Linked DNA regions of Homo sapiens: regions 2 and 3 are each linked to region 1. The links are contacts of gene promoters, found by promoter capture Hi-C in human tissues and cell types (Jung and others, 2019). All regions are on one chromosome and are shown on one strand. Each heading gives the region's core, a stretch centred on a gene start or on the middle of the fragment in contact. The rest is flanking DNA. Distances are from core to core; before and after follow the strand shown. Region 1 holds the start of NLRP12 (NLR family pyrin domain containing 12). Region 2 overlaps CACNG7 (calcium voltage-gated channel auxiliary subunit gamma 7). Region 3 overlaps PRKCG (protein kinase C gamma).

The links. Contacts are between HindIII fragments. The study calls those that stand out against the background at their distance.
Region 2: a fragment that was not itself captured here is called in contact with the fragment with the promoter of NLRP12 in region 1 in 2 of the 25 tissues and cell types used here (heart left ventricle and spleen).
Region 3: a fragment that was not itself captured here is called in contact with the fragment with the promoter of NLRP12 in region 1 in 2 of the 25 tissues and cell types used here (H1 embryonic stem cells and thymus).

The regions. Positions count from the first base shown.
Region 1 is chr19:53,822,112-53,827,155 of GRCh38, reverse strand. NLRP12 (NLR family pyrin domain containing 12) reads left to right here and starts at 2,842. Exons shown (of 10, transcript NM_144687.4): 1 at 2,842-3,270. The coding sequence starts at 2,982. The HindIII fragment of the contact is 28,124 bases long and covers 1-5,044 here.
Region 2 is chr19:53,934,918-53,939,961 of GRCh38, reverse strand. The region is part of intron 4 of CACNG7 (calcium voltage-gated channel auxiliary subunit gamma 7); the gene reads right to left. Among named protein-coding and RNA genes, the nearest start is that of CACNG8, 25 kb to the left of the region's middle. The HindIII fragment of the contact is 6,086 bases long and covers 1-4,962 here.
Region 3 is chr19:53,902,928-53,907,971 of GRCh38, reverse strand. It overlaps PRKCG (protein kinase C gamma), which reads right to left. Exons shown (of 18, transcript NM_002739.5): 15 at 4,819-4,899; 16 at 3,230-3,337; 17 at 1,515-1,655; 18 at 320-1,265. The coding sequence ends at 1,077. Among named protein-coding and RNA genes, the nearest start is that of CACNG7, 3.8 kb to the left of the region's middle. RefSeq lists an enhancer at 68-609. The HindIII fragment of the contact is 5,202 bases long and covers 1-5,044 here.

The DNA.
Region 1 (5,044 bases), core at 1,593-4,092:
AAGGAAAATGGCATTCCTTGTCTTTAGATTCATTCTTGTGTTTCCAGAAATGGCACTAAGCCCAGAAGCAGCTATAGAAGTTGCCAATTCTCTTCTTTCCCCATGAGAAAGTTCTATCTTGAAAGTGGAAGCATGAAGTAGACAGATGTGGATTCAGCTTCCCCCAAGCCTCGCTTCCGAATTCCTAGAAATTAGTTTTACCACCACCTGCAGCAGTGGCGTGGAAGGAGCCTGCGTCGTGAGCCACTTGAGGAAGCTCAGATGGGGTCTGTAGGTAGTTCAGGTTTGCCAAACCTTTCTCCTCCCCTCTAATGATCACTGCCATCCCCACACTCCCAGGATGCACCCACCGCCTGCCCTTACTCAGGCATTATCTCCATCTCCTGAAACATGAAGGCTTCAGCTTCTCGCTCTCCCAATCCAGGCCTCCTCTGTTTGGTCTGCCTTCCACAAGGGCCTTGAGGAATCTTCCTTAACCCAGACCTGACTCCATCCCTCCCCTGCTCAAAACTGCTGCATGCCATGCAACAGAATATTAGTCCTGGAAGGGACTGGATGTGGGAGAATGTCTCATAAAAAGCTGTGAAGGTTTTTTTTGTTTTGTTTTGAGACGGAGTCTTACTCTGTCACCCAGGCTGGAGTGCAATGGCGGGATCTTGGCTCATTGCAACCTCCGCCTCCTGAGTTCAAGTGATTTTCCTGCCCCAGCCTCCTGAGTAGCTGGGACTACAGGCACCCGCCACCAAACCCCAGCTAATTTTTTTTTTCTTTTTTTGAGACAGAGTCTCGCTCTGTTGCCCAGGCTGGAGTGCAGTGGCGCAGTCTCGGCTCACTGCAACCTCTGCTTCCCGGGTTCAAGTGATTCTCCTGCCTCAGCCTCCCAAGTAGCTGGGATTACAGGTGCGTGCCACCAAGCCCGGCTAATTTTTGTATTTTTAGTAGAGACGGGGTTTCACCATGTTGGCCAGGCTGGTCTCAAACTCCTGACCTCAGGTGATCTGCCCGCCTCAGTCTCCCAAAGTGCTGGGATTACAGGTGTGAGCCACTGCGCCTGGCTATGAAGGCTTTTGTGTGTGTGTGTGTGTGTGTGTGTGTGTGTGTGTGTGTGTGTGTGTGTCTGAGGGGTCTTAATTGATTAGGAGCATGAAACAAAGTTGGCATGATGCAGGAGACAGAGGGAATTATAAACTTGCTCTTCCATCAGAATTCATAAATTCTGCTAACACATATTTTGTAGAGATGGGGCCTCACTGTGTTGACCAGTCTGGTGTGAAACTCCTGGCCTCAGGTGATCTACCTGCCTTGGCCTCCCCAAGTGCTAGGATTACAGGCATGAGCCATTGCACCCAGTCACATCTTCCTCTTACACTAACCCTCCTGTCTTCTTCTTATAAAGACTCTTGTGGCTGGGTGCGGTGGCTCACGCCTGTAATCCCAGCACTTTGGGAGGCTGAGGCAGGTGGATCACGAAGTCAGGAGATCAAGACCATCCTGGCTAACATGGTGAAACCCCATCTCTACTAAAAATACAAAAAAAAGAGAATTAGCCAGGCGTGTTGGCGGGCACCTGTAGTCCCAGCTATACGGAAGGCTGAGGCAGGAGAATGGTGTGAACCTGGGAGGCGGAGCTTGCAGTGATCCGAGTTCGTGCCACTGCACTCCAGCCTGGGCAACAGAGCAAGACTCTGTCTCAAAAAAAAGACTCTTGTGATTCCATGGGTCCTGCCCAGATAACCAGGATAATGTCCCCATCTGAAGTGCCTTCATTTGGTCACATATGCTAAGTCTCTTTTGCTATGTAGGGTGAAATGTCACAGGTTCTGGCCATTAGGACATGAATATCTTTGGGGACCATCATCCTGCCTACCGCAAAGTCCCTCTCATGCCACTCTTGTGACTGAGAGAACAGAAAAAAAATAGCAGACCTACGTGAGGTCCTTAATAATTCTCCCTGAGGCTGGGCTCAGTGGCTCATGCCTGTAATCCCAGCACTTTGGAAGGCTGAGGTGGGCGGATCGTTTGAGCTCAGGAGTTCAAGGCCAGCCTGGGCAACATAAGAAGACCTTGTCTCTACCAAAACTACAAAAACTTAGCTGGGCATGGTGGCGCATGTCTGTGGTCCCAGCTACTTGAGAGGCTGAGGTGGGAGAATCGCTGGAACCTGGGAGGCGGAGGTTGCAGTGAGCTGAGATCACGCCAGTGAACTCTAGCCTGGGTGGCAGAGTGAGACTCTGACTCAAAGAAAAAAAAAAAAAAAAAAGCCAGGGACGGTGGCTCACACCTGTAATCCTAGCACTTTGGAAGGCTGAGGCGGGTGGATCACCTGAGGTCAGGAGTTCGAGACCAGCCTGACCAACATGGTGAAACCCTGTCTCTTCTAAAACCACAAAAATTAGCTGGGTGTGGTGTCCGGCGCCTGTAATCCCAGCTACTCAAGGGAAGCTGAGGTGGGAGAATCGCTTGAACCTGGGAGGCAGAGGTTGCGGTGAGCCAAGATCGCAGAGCCAGGGCCACAGAGTAAGACTCTGTCTCAAAAAAAAAAAAATTCTCCCTGGAAGAGGCGCAGTCGCAGTTTTGATAATACACTCTACCACACACACTAGTGAAATGAGGAAAACAAGAGGAAAGCGGAAAGAGAGTGACTGTTTTGTCAAGAGATCCAGGAAGAGACAGCAGAAGTGAAAATCTTTTTCATCAGCCAAGTGGCTCCTCGGATTTCTTAATCTCCCCCCGAACTTCCTCTTCTCCACCCAGAACAGCCATTGGTGAGTGGGGCAGGGCAGGAGGGAACTGAAGAGTGAGAAAGCATTATTTCAGCAAAAGGTCTTTCCTCCCTTGCTCTCTCCTCCAACCACTGGCTCAGCCTCTCCGCCCGCTGCCTGTGAATGATGCAATGGAAGGTGTGCTGGGGTCGCCCTGTGTCCCGTGCATAGGAGCATCTCAGCCTCCAGGTCCTCTCCTTTGGGGCTCACGGCACCCCCATGCTACGAACCGCAGGCAGGGACGGCCTCTGTCGCCTGTCCACCTACTTGGAAGAACTCGAGGCTGTGGAACTGAAGAAGTTCAAGTTATACCTGGGGACCGCGACAGAGCTGGGAGAAGGCAAGATCCCCTGGGGAAGCATGGAGAAGGCCGGTCCCCTGGAAATGGCCCAGCTGCTCATCACCCACTTCGGGCCAGAGGAGGCCTGGAGGTTGGCTCTCAGCACCTTTGAGCGGATAAACAGGAAGGACCTGTGGGAGAGAGGACAGAGAGAGGACCTGGTGAGGGGTAAGGAGGTGGCGGGACAGGCAAGGCTAGAATGCCAGCCGGGTCCAGTGACTCATACCTGTAATCTCAGCACTTTGGGAGGCTGAAGAGGGCAGATCACTTGAGGTGAGGAGTTCAAGACCAGTCTGGACAACATAGTGAGGCTCTGTCTCTACCAAAAATAAAAAAAATTAGCCAGGTGTGGTGGTATACGTCTGTGATCCCAGCTTCTCAGGAGGCTGAGGTGGGAGGATCACTTGAGACCAGAAGGTCGAGGCTGCGGTGAGCTATGATCCTGCCACTGCACCCCAGCCTAGGTGACAGAACGAGACCTTGCCTCAAATATTTAAAATATATTTTTTTAAAATATATATATTTAAAATATATGTTTTAAATATATATTTTAAATAAATATATTTTAAAATATATATTTTAAATATATATTTAAAATATATATTTAAAACATATATTTTAAATATATATATTTAAAACATATATTTTAAATATATATTTAAAATATGTATATAATTATATTATTAAATATATATTAAATATGGTATATATTATATATAAATATAGTATATATTTATTATATAAATATACTATATTATATAAATATGGTATATTATATAAATATATATAAATAATAAATATTATATATTAAATATTTAATACATATATTATTAAAATAAATATTTAAAATACATATATATAAAATCCCTGAGCCTGGGAGATCTGGAATTTATATATATATACACACACGTATATATATGTGTATATATGTGTATATATATGTGTGTGTATATGTGTGTGTGTATATATATTTTAAGAGATGAGGTAGCCAGGTGCAGTGGCTCACACCTATAATCCCAGCACTTTGGGAGGCCAAGGCGGGTGGGTCACCTGAGGTCAGGAATTCGAGATCAGTCTGGCCAACATAGCAAAACCCTGTCTCTACTAAAAATACAAAAATTAGCCAGGCGTGGTGGCACACGCTTATAGTCCCAGCTACATGGGAGGCTGAGGCAGGAGAATCGCTTGAACCTGAGAGGTGGAGATTGCAGTGAGTTGAGATTGCACCACTGTACTCCAGGCTGGGTAACAGAGTGAAACCCCATCTCAAAAATAAATTAAGAAAGAGATGAGGTATCCTTTTTTTTTTTTTTTTTTAAGACTGAGTCTCGCTCTGTTGCCCAGGCTGGAGTGCAGTGGCGCAATCTCCGCTCACTGCAACCTCCGTCTCCCAGGTTCAAGCAATTTTCTGCCTCAGCATCCCGAGTAGCTGAGATTACAGGTACCTGCCACCATGCCTGGCTAATTTTTTGTATTTGTATTTTTTGTAGAGACGGGGTTTCACTATCTTGGCCAGGCTGGTCTTGAACTTCTGACCTCGTGATCCACCCACCTCAGCCTCCCAAAGTGCTGGGATTACGGGCATAAGCCACTGTGCCCGGCCAAGATGAGGTGTCCTTATGTTGCCCGGGCTGGTCTTGAACTCCTGGGCTCAAGCGAGCTTCCACCTTAGCCTCCCAAAGTGCTGGGATTACAGGCATGAATGACCACTGCCTGGCCACCAATTCCCTTTTCTTTCATACTAATCCCTGAGCCTGGGAGATCTGGAATTCTAATTTACGTACACACACATCTATATCTATATAAAAATTTCAACTTTTAGATTCAAGGGGTACATGTGCAGGTTTGTTACATGGGTATATTGAGTGATGCTGAGATTCAGAGTAAGATTGATCCTATCATGCAGGTACTTGAACATAGTAATAGTACCCAATGGTGAGAT
Region 2 (5,044 bases), core at 670-3,169, 110 kb before region 1:
TCATTGTGTATGGCCCACCAGCTAAGAATGGCTTTCACATAAGTAAATGATGTTAAAAATCAAAACAAGACTGGTATTTTGTGGCACATAAAAAGTATATGAATTTCATTTGGCAGCGCCTCAAAAAGTTAAAGATAGAATTATCATATGACCCAGCAATTCCACTCCTAGGTATGTCCCCAAGAGAAGTGGAAACATATGTTCATACAAAAACGCATACACGGATGTTTGTAACAGCGTTATGCGTAATAGCCAAAAAGCGGAAACAGCCCAAATGCCCATCAGCTGATGAATGGATAAACAAAATGTGGTATATCCATATACAGGAATACTATTCAGCCAAAAAAGGGAACGATATACTGATTCATGCTACCATAGGGATGAACCTAGAAAGCAAGCTAAAAGAAGCCAGATGCAAAATATCACATATTGTGTGATTCCATTTATATGCAATGTCCAGAATAGGCAAATCCACAGAGACAGAAAGTAGATTAGTGGTTGCCAGGGAATAGGATGGAGGGGGAAATTGTGTCTGGCTGCTAAGGTGTGTGAGGTTTCTTTTGAGAATAATGAAAATGTTGTGAAATTAGCTAATGGAGATGGTTGCACAACCTTGTGGATGTACTGAAACATCACTGAATTATATGAAATTTATAGTATGTGAATTACATCTCAATTTTGTTTTTTGTTTTTTGGAATTTTTTGAGACAGATTCTTGCTCTGTCACCTAGGCTGGAGTGTAGTGGTGCAATCTCGGCTCACCGCAACCTCTGCCTCCTGGACTCAAGCGATTCTCCTGCCTCAGCCTCCTGCGTAGCTGGAATTAACAGGCACCCGCCACCATGCCTGGCTAATTTTTGTATTTTTAGTAGAGACAGGGCTTCACAATGTTGACCAGGCTGGTCTCAAACTCCTGACCTTAAGTGATCTGCCCACCTTGGCCTCCCAAAGTGCTGGGATTACAGGTGTGAGCCACCACACCCGGCCTTTTTTGTTTTGTTTTGTTTTGTTTTGAAGACAGGGTCTTGCTCTGTCACCCAGGCTGGAGAGCACTGGGACAATCATGGCTCACTGCAGCCTTCACTTCCCAGGCTCAAGTGATCCTCCCACCTCAGCCTCCCTAGTAGCTGGGACTACAGGTGCACACCACCACGCCCGGCTAATTTTTTGTATTTTTTGCAGAGACAGGGTTTTGCCATGTTGCCCAGGCTGGTCTCGAACTCCTGATCTCAAGTGATCTGCACACCTCATCTCCCAGAGTGCTGGGATTACAGGCGTGAGCCACTGTGCCTGGCTTTATATCTCAACTTTTTAAAGTACATTAATTTTAAATTTTGGTTTCTACAAATGATAGTGGAACACAGCCACACCCATTTGTTTACATATTGCCTGTGACTGGTTTTTTGCTACAACCACAAGGCTGAGCAGTTACAAGAGAGACTGGGTGGCCAATAAAGCTGAAGGTATTTATTATTTGGCTCTTTACAGAAAACTTCGCTGACCTCTTAGACTGCAGTATATAAATGGTCCGGTACCTGCCCACACCATCTCTGATCAGTTTCTCCTTGTTTCTTTTTCTTAGACCACCTAACTTTCTTTACTTTTTTTCTTTTTGGGACAGGGTCTTGCTCTGTTGTCCAGGCAGGAGTGCATTGGTGCAATCATAGCTCACTGCAGCCTCCACCTCCCTGGCTCAAGCAATCCTCACACCTCAGACTCATGAGTAGCTGGGACAACAGGCATGCACCACCATGCGGGGCTAACTTTTGCATTTTTTTGTAGAGACAGGGTCTCCCCATGTTGCCCAGGCTGGTCTCGAACTCCTGAGCTCAAGCAGTTCTTCCACCTTGGCCTCCCAAAGTGCTGGGATTACAAGCGTGAGCCACCACACTCGGCCTAGAACACCTAACTTTCTTGCTCTTCCTTGAACTCCTCAAGCTCACTTCTGCCTCAGGGCCTTTGGTCTTGCCATTCCTTCTACCTGGAATGCTCTTCCCCCAGATTTCCCCATGTCTATTTCTGTCACTTAGATCTCTCCTCACTTGTTGCCTCTTTAGAAAGACCTTCTATGGGCCAGGCGCAGTGGCTTAAGCCTGTAATCCCAGCACTTTGGGAGGCCCAGGTGAAAGGATCACTTGAGACCAGGGGTTTCAGACCAGCCTGGCCACCGTGGTGAAACCTCGTCTCTACTAAAAATACAAAAATTAGCTGGGTGCGATGGCACACACTCGTAACCCCAGCTACTCGGGATGCTGAGGCAGGAGGATTACTTGAACCCAGGAAGCAGAGGTTGCAATGAGTCAAGATCGTGCCACTGCACTCCAGCCTGGGCAACAAGAGCAAAACTCCGAGAAGGAGGGGAGGGGAGGGGAGGGGAGGGGAGGGAAGGGAAGGGGGGAGGAGACTTTTATGATCTCCCTGTTGAAAAAAGTAGATTTCCCTCACTCAAAATTTGAGAAATGCAAATGAAAAATATGATGAGCTACCACTTCTCATCAACCGGGTAGTCAGAAGTTTAAAAGCTTCACAGCACACTCTTTTGGGGAGGCTGAGAGAATGGACGTTCTTCTACATTGCTGGTGGGAATGCAAAACGGTGCCGCCACGTGAAAGGGGATTTAGTAGCATCTAACAAAATCACACACGGATCTGTCCTTTAACCCAGCAATCCCACTTCCAGGAATTTATCCTGAGGATATCTCTCCCGTGATGGGAAACCACACATGCACAGGCTGATTTATCGCAGCATGACTTGCCGTTGAAAAATAATGGAGGCTGGGCACCGTGGCTCATGAGTGGAATCTCCGCACCTCGGGAGGCCGAGGTGGGCAGATCACTTGAGGTCAGCAGCTCAAGACCAGCCTGGACAACATAGTGAGACCCCATCTCTACTAAAAATAAATAATTAGTTCCTGTTGTCTTAGCTACTTGGGAGGCTCAGGAGGGAGGATCCCTCGAGCCTAGGAGTTCAAGGCTGCAGTGAGCTATGACTGCACCACTGCACTCCCGCCTGGGTGACAGAGGGAGACTGTCTCAAAAAACTCAATTAAGTTAGGCTGGGCACGGTGGCTCATGCCTATAATCTCTGCATTTTGGGAGGCCAAGGTGGGCAGATCACTTAAGGTCAGGAGTTTGAGACCAGCCTGGCCAACATGGTGAAACCTGATCTCTACTAAAAATACAAAAATTAGCCAGGCATGGTGGTGGGTGCCTGTAATCCCAGCTACCTGGGAGGCTGAAGCACAAGAATTGCTTGAACCCAGGAGGCAGAGGTTGCAGTGAGCCGAGATCCCACCACTGCAATCCAGCCTGGGCGACAGAGTGAGACTCCGTCTCAAAAAAACAAAAACTAAATTAAAAACAAAATAGAATAAAATACATGAGTCCACACTGATACATATTTAAAATAAGAAAAAAGAGAAAGTTCTTTTCAGTAGCACACCAATTTATCCATGTAGGTGGAATAATAGAGTTAGAAGAAAACACCATTCTGCAATCCTAGTAGTAATGTTAGATTCAGGCAAGAGTCACGAGGGGATGCTCGATTGCTGGATGACAGAATCTCCCCACAGAAGATCTATTAATTATTACAGAGATAAAAAGCTTCCTTTATGGTGAAAGAACCTGGCAGATACTGCCTTAACCAAGTGATCGCAGTTAACATCACCAGCAACAGGGCAGACCTACACCACGGGCCTCCAGAGAAGAGAGCTGAGCAAACCACTCCCTCCTTTATGTCGTGTTCCTGCTGAGAATGCGTAACCTGAATCCACTCATGAGGACAGTGGGACACTCTACAGCCCAACTGGCTGCACTCTTCAAAAACGTCAACATGAAAGATTGAAAAAGAAAAAAAAAGGCAGCAGAGCTCCATAAAAAATGAAAGGTTCACATGGCATCCTCCACGTATTAAAAAAAAAAAAAAATGAAAGGAGACTAAAGAGACACAATAGGGAAATGCAAAGCGTGATCTTAGATTGGATTCTGAATCAGGAAAAAGTAACAGTAAAAAGATAGCATTAGGCCAGGCGTGGTGGTTCACGCCTATAATCCCAGCACTTTGGGAGGCCAAGGCAGGTGGATCACTTGAGGTCAGGAGTTCGAGATCAGCCTGGCCAACATGGAGAAATCCTGTCTCTACTAAAAATACAAAAATTAGCTGGGCATGGTGGTGGGTGCCTGTAATCCCAGCTACTTGGGAGGCTGAGGCAGGAGAATCGCTTGAACCCAGGAGGCAGAAGGTTGCAGTGAGCCGAGATCGCGCCATTGCACTCCAGCCTGGGTACAAGAGCAAAACTCCAACTCAAAAAAAAAAAAAAAAAAAAAAAGACAGTATTGGAGGGTGGGGGCGGTGGCTCACGCCTATAATCCCAGTAGTTTGGGAGGCTGAGGTGAGTGGATCACTTGAGCTTAGGAGTTTGAGACCAGCCTGACCCACATGGTGAAACCTTGTCTCTACTAAAAACACAAAAATTAGCCAGGCGTGGTGGCATTAGCCTGTAGTTCCAGCTATTTGGGAGGCTGAGGCACAAGAATCCCTGTAACCCAGAAGGCAGAGGTTGCAGTGAACCAAGATTGAGCCACTGCACTCCAGCCTGGGTGACAAAGCAAGACTGTCTCAATTAAAAAAAAAAAAAAAGACAGTATTGGGACATTGGTGAAATTTAAATGTAGGACTAGATATTAGCTATAGTATTTTATAGACCTTAAACTTCCTGAATTTGATTATTGTACTGTGGTTAGGTAAAAGAATGCCCTTGTTCTTAGGAAATACTTGCTGAACTAGTGAAGTGTTTGCAACTTATATTCAAGTGGTTGCACCAATGTGTGTACATATATATTTTTTGTGCACACATATGCATATATTTGTGTGTATATATGTATATATAACGTGTGTATACATAGGTATATATGTATATGTAATATGTGTATACATATATGTGTATATAGATCTATATATATATATGGAGAGAGAGAGAGACAGAAAGGCAAATGTTGTAAAATGTTGAAAAACTGGGCTAGGTGAAGGATATGAGAGTTCATTG
Region 3 (5,044 bases), core at 1,294-3,793, 81 kb before region 1:
GCTGCTCTGGTGAACACGGACGCGCTGGGTCTCTGCGCGGGGGTCGCCACCTGGCACTCTCAGTGATCTCCGTGCCCCTCTCTCGCTGTGCACTGTCCACGTTGGTGCCCTCTGTGATATTTTCTCTCCCTGTCTCTGTCTGTCTGGGTCTCCTGCCTCTGTCTGCGCGCGCTTCTCTGCTTGCTCCCCTGCAGTGGGTGTCTCCCCTCTCACTTTGTGGGTCTCCGTGCTTTCCTTCTCTGTTTGTGTCTATGTACAGTCACTGTCCCGCCTCCACACCCCGTTCATTCTCCAAGCTTACAAGAAAATATCCAAACACTTCAGCATCAGCATCCCAAATTTATTCTCCAGCAGCTGTGGCCGGGTGGGAGAGGCTAAGGGAAGAGGAGGGGAGGAGGAGAGTCCCAGAGAGTGGCAGGCACTGGGGAGAGTTGGGGTGGGTCCGAGCCAGACAGGAGCCATGCACGGCAGGCGGGCTGCGGGGAGAAGTGATGGCTTCGGGATGGGGAAGTCTAGAACAAAAGCTGATTGGGAGCCTCTGGGGAAAGAATCCTCCATATATCCCAGAAATCCCCAGAGCACAGCAGCGGGACGTACTGGAGGAGGGGGGCACGCCTCCCACTCATCTAGAACTAGAGTGGAGGCGGGGAGCCTCGGAGGCCGAGGGCTGTTCTGGAACCTGAGTCTGGAACAGCCAACCCCGTGAGGCTATTTCCCCAGGGGCGGGGTCTGGGGGGAGGCACAGAACTACCAAGATGGAGTCTCGAACCCCATGGAGTTGGGGATGGTTAGTGGTGTGGTCTCTGGACCCGATTGGGGCAGAGTCCAGAACGCTAAGGTCAGGGAGAATATCGGGCTCCGCTCAAGTCTTGAACGCGGGACGGCTGTAGAGGCTGTATGGAGTTCAGAAGGCCAGGAACGCTTGGGAGGGGCGTCTAGAACCCGCGGGGGCAGAGCTGGAATGCTGGGGTGCAGGATCTAGAATGGGACAGGGGGTGGTGAAGTTGGGGGTGAAGTGGGGCTGCCGCCGGCACGGCGGAGGGGACGTTGGGGACACCTAGTGGCGGCGGGTGAGATTACATGACGGGCACAGGCACTGGGCTGGTGGGGCTGCGGGCATCCGGGTGCACGAAGTCGGGGTTCACGTAGGTGAAGCCCTGGAAATCGGCCTGGTCGATGCTGGCCAGGACTAGGCGGTCTGGAGGGGTCAGCGCTGGCGCCGCCCGCGTGAAGAACTTGTCAAAGTTCTCGCCGCTGCGGCCACACTGTGGGAGACGTGGGGGAGGGAAAGTTAAGCAGCTCCGAGGGCTCCTCGGGTGTCCCTCTGTGTACCCCAGTCTCATCTCCTGTCTCCTGCAGAATCTCTATTCATGCTTCATGGTGTCTGCACCTCCTTTTGTTGGGGGCGGGGGGCTCTGCAGAGGGAACCCCACCCCCACATACAGGTATATTGAGGCCCAGGGGAACCCCACCCCTTCAGGGACCAGGTTTTTGTTGCCTGGAGGGTGACTGACCGGGCGGGGTCTGAAAGGAGGCGGGATCTCCAATCGTTCCAGCCGCTCCCAGTCAATCCAGCGGAAAAAGCCATGTGCACGGATGGTAGGTTCCCCATCAGGCCCTGAGCCCAGGCGCTTCCCTGGGTGCTTGGTCAGGAACTGTGGGAAACACAGAGAGAGACAGACAGACAAACAGACAGAGTGCCGGACAGGTAGACCCAGAGAAAGAGGGACAGAGACAGGCAGATGGAGGAACCAAGAGACACAGGCATGAGATCCGGAGAGATAAGAACAGCCAGGGGAAACAGGCAAATGGAGGGAGGAAGGGAAAAGAAAGGAGAGAGAGAGAGAAGAAAAGAAGAAGAAGAAGAAGAAGAAGAAGAAGAAGAAGGAGGAGGAGGAGGAGGAGGAGGAGGAGGAGGAGGAGGAGGAGGGAGGAGGAGGAGGAGGGAGACAGACAGAGAGCGAGACAGAGAGAGACAGAGAGGAGAGAGAGAGGAAGAGGGACAGAGAGAGAGAGAGACAGAGGGTGAGAGTGAGTGAGAGAGAGAGAGAGAGAGACAGGAAGAAGGAGAGGATACATGAAAATGATAGCAGATGAAATTCATACCCAGAGACCCAGGGACACACAGAGAAACAGAACAAATCATGAGGGAGATGGAGAAGAGGAGAGGGAAAAGGGGTAGGGGGAGAGAGGGAAGGGGAGAGAGGGACGGGGAGAGGGAAGGGTAGGGGGAGGGAGGGAAGGGGAGAGTGAAGGACAGAGGGAGGTCGGTAGGGGGAGGGAGGGAAGGGTAGAGGAGATGAAGGGGAAGAGGGAGGGAATGGGGGAAGAGAGGTTGCAGACCCAGAGAAAAGGGGAAATAGAAATTCAGAGGGTGGTACAGAGACCCCAGGTAAGAAGGCAGAAACTCAGAGAAGGGAGGAGACAGAGGAGACCCAGGGGGACAGAGATTCAGAAAGAGAGAAGGATAGAGACCCAGGAAACACACACCCAGAGGGAGGAATAAAGACCAAATATGGGGACAGAGACCCAGAGAAAAGGGAGGACAGAAAGCCAGCAGGAGAGGAGGGTGAGATGTAGCGTGTGTGTATGAGAGTGGACACAGGAGGGGACAGAGATGGGGGGTAGGGGGGTTGGACAAAGGCCCAAAAGTGTAGACAGAGATGCAGAAGGAGACACAGAGAAAAGGAAGAAACACAGAGAGCCCCATCGTATGCAGATGGAGGGGAGGCATGAGACAGAAACCAGAGAGACTGTCAGGGAGATGCAGAGAGAGCAGCTAGACGCAGAAGGTGCTGACATGGGCTGAAAATCTGCTATGGGCCAGGTGCTTTCTTCTGTGTCAACTCCATAACCCCTGAAGAGAGTTAAGCTCACAAAGTTTTGGTGACTCACCCAAGTTCACACAGGAAGAAAAGCTGCAGAAGTTGGGTTTACCTGACCCACCCAGTTCTAGACAGACAGACACCCTGGACTTTCAGCACTTCCTGCAAGCAGGGAGCTGGGGAGTGGGAGTCACAGAGAAGGATGAGACAGAGGCCATCTCCAGGCCTCGTGGCAACAGGGCTGGAAATCATTGTTCTAACAAAACCTATGCATCATATCAACTTTTCCAACAGATGGAAGTAAAGTGACTTCAGGAATGGGAGCATTTTTCTAATAGGCACAGAGACAGCAATGGGGTGTGTGGTTGTGAGCCTGGAGAAGCTGGGAGTCAGGGGGCTCTCACCCCCTTGCAGATGGCCACGGCTTCCCGGGAAAGCGACTTGGGGTAGGTGACAGTTTGTTCCATGATGGCCTGAAACAGCTCCTCCTCGTCCTCCCCATCGAAGGGAGGCTATCAAAGTGGAGGGGATAGAGAGTCAGGGACATGCCCAACTGCCTTTCCCCAAACCTTCCACACCCTCCTCACCCCACCGGGAACATGCCTGACCCATCACACGCCCCACATGCACACCTGACCACACCCTCAGGAGAGATCAGACCAAACCACCAAAGCTTGATCTCTCTCCTTCTCAGGTTCTCTCATTTCCTATCTCGGATGCCTCAGATCTGTGCATCTCTGTACTATTCTGCCTCTCTTTATCTGCTATGTAAATCAGCAGGCTGTTAATTATGCAACATGTCAGTTAAATAGAAGAGAGGAAAAACTGCAGGAAACACCCTAAAAGCATTCTCCTGGTTGGATGAGTAGTTCACAGTCTTCTGAGGTTACAAAAAATGATACCAAGGCAAAGATTTAGAGATGGGGTTTCATCATATTGGCCAGGCTGGTCTCAAACTCCTGACCTCAAGTGATCTGCCCACTTCGGCCTCCCAAAGTGCTTGGATTACAGGCGTGAGCCACCATGTCCGGCCAAATTTTTTTTTAACTTCTAACTAAAATTTAGCATTCCCTTCAGTTATGAATGCAGGCAGCAGCAGTGCTTGTGGCTTCATTATCAATAGTAATCACAGGTATTTTCTCATCACATGAGAGTTGCAGATATTCCAAATTATTAGTCATTGCTACATCAAAATTACTGTTAGAGCTCCTTTTTACTTTACTACCATTAGAACTTACTACTTAATGAATTAATAAGAAATTGCACATATGTCCATTTTCCAATTTTAAATATTTAGACAACTGTATACATTGAATTTAGTTGGTTGTTAGATTCAATTAAATTTTAAAAGTTTTGGTGACTATCTTTCAAAATGATTGATTTCTTTTGTTTGTTTGTTCTTTTGAGATGGGGTCTTGCTCTGTCGCCTGTGCTGGAACACAGTGGCATACTCATAGTTCAGTGTAACCTTGAGTTCTTGGGCTCATGTGACCCTCCTGCCTCAGCCTCCCCAGTAGCTGGGACTATAGGTGCCCACTACCATAGCCAGCTAAGAAGATGATCAAGAGTGTGGTAACCAATTTTTTTAGTTGTAGTACACTCAGCAGTCCAGGAATCCAATCAAGCTGATTTAGAATGTATGTAATTGTCTAAGCTGACACAGCCAGTAAGTGGCAAAGTGAGGATTTGAACCTTGGTTTTCTGCGTATGTATTATTCTATTTTGTGCATTGAAAAACATTCTTCTGAGAAGGGATCCATAGGCTTAACCAGACTGCTACTTTACCATCTAGGGAGAAAGAATCCATGGTAACAGAACAAACAAAACAAAACAAAACAAAACACCTGGTCTACATTAAGACAACACTTCAGAACCATGGACAGCGCTATTCGAGCACAACCTTCTGGGCTCCTTTCTAACTGGCTCCTCCTGAGATCCAGGTGCCCCTCTCTGTCTCTTTTAGCCAAGCCAGCTTCTCCCCACCTTCCCTTACCTGTCCTGCCAACATCTCATACAGCAGAACTCCAAAGGACCACCAATCGACAGACTTCCCATAGGGCTGGTAGGCAATGATCTAGGGGAGGTGGAAGGCAGGGAATCATGATGCGTTCTTTAGGAAGCCTAGGACCCCTCTGGCCTCACCCCCTGGGAGCGCTACCCACGTTAAGTGCTTTCAGCACAAGCTCTTCCCACTCTGAATATTTATTTCATCAGGTGAT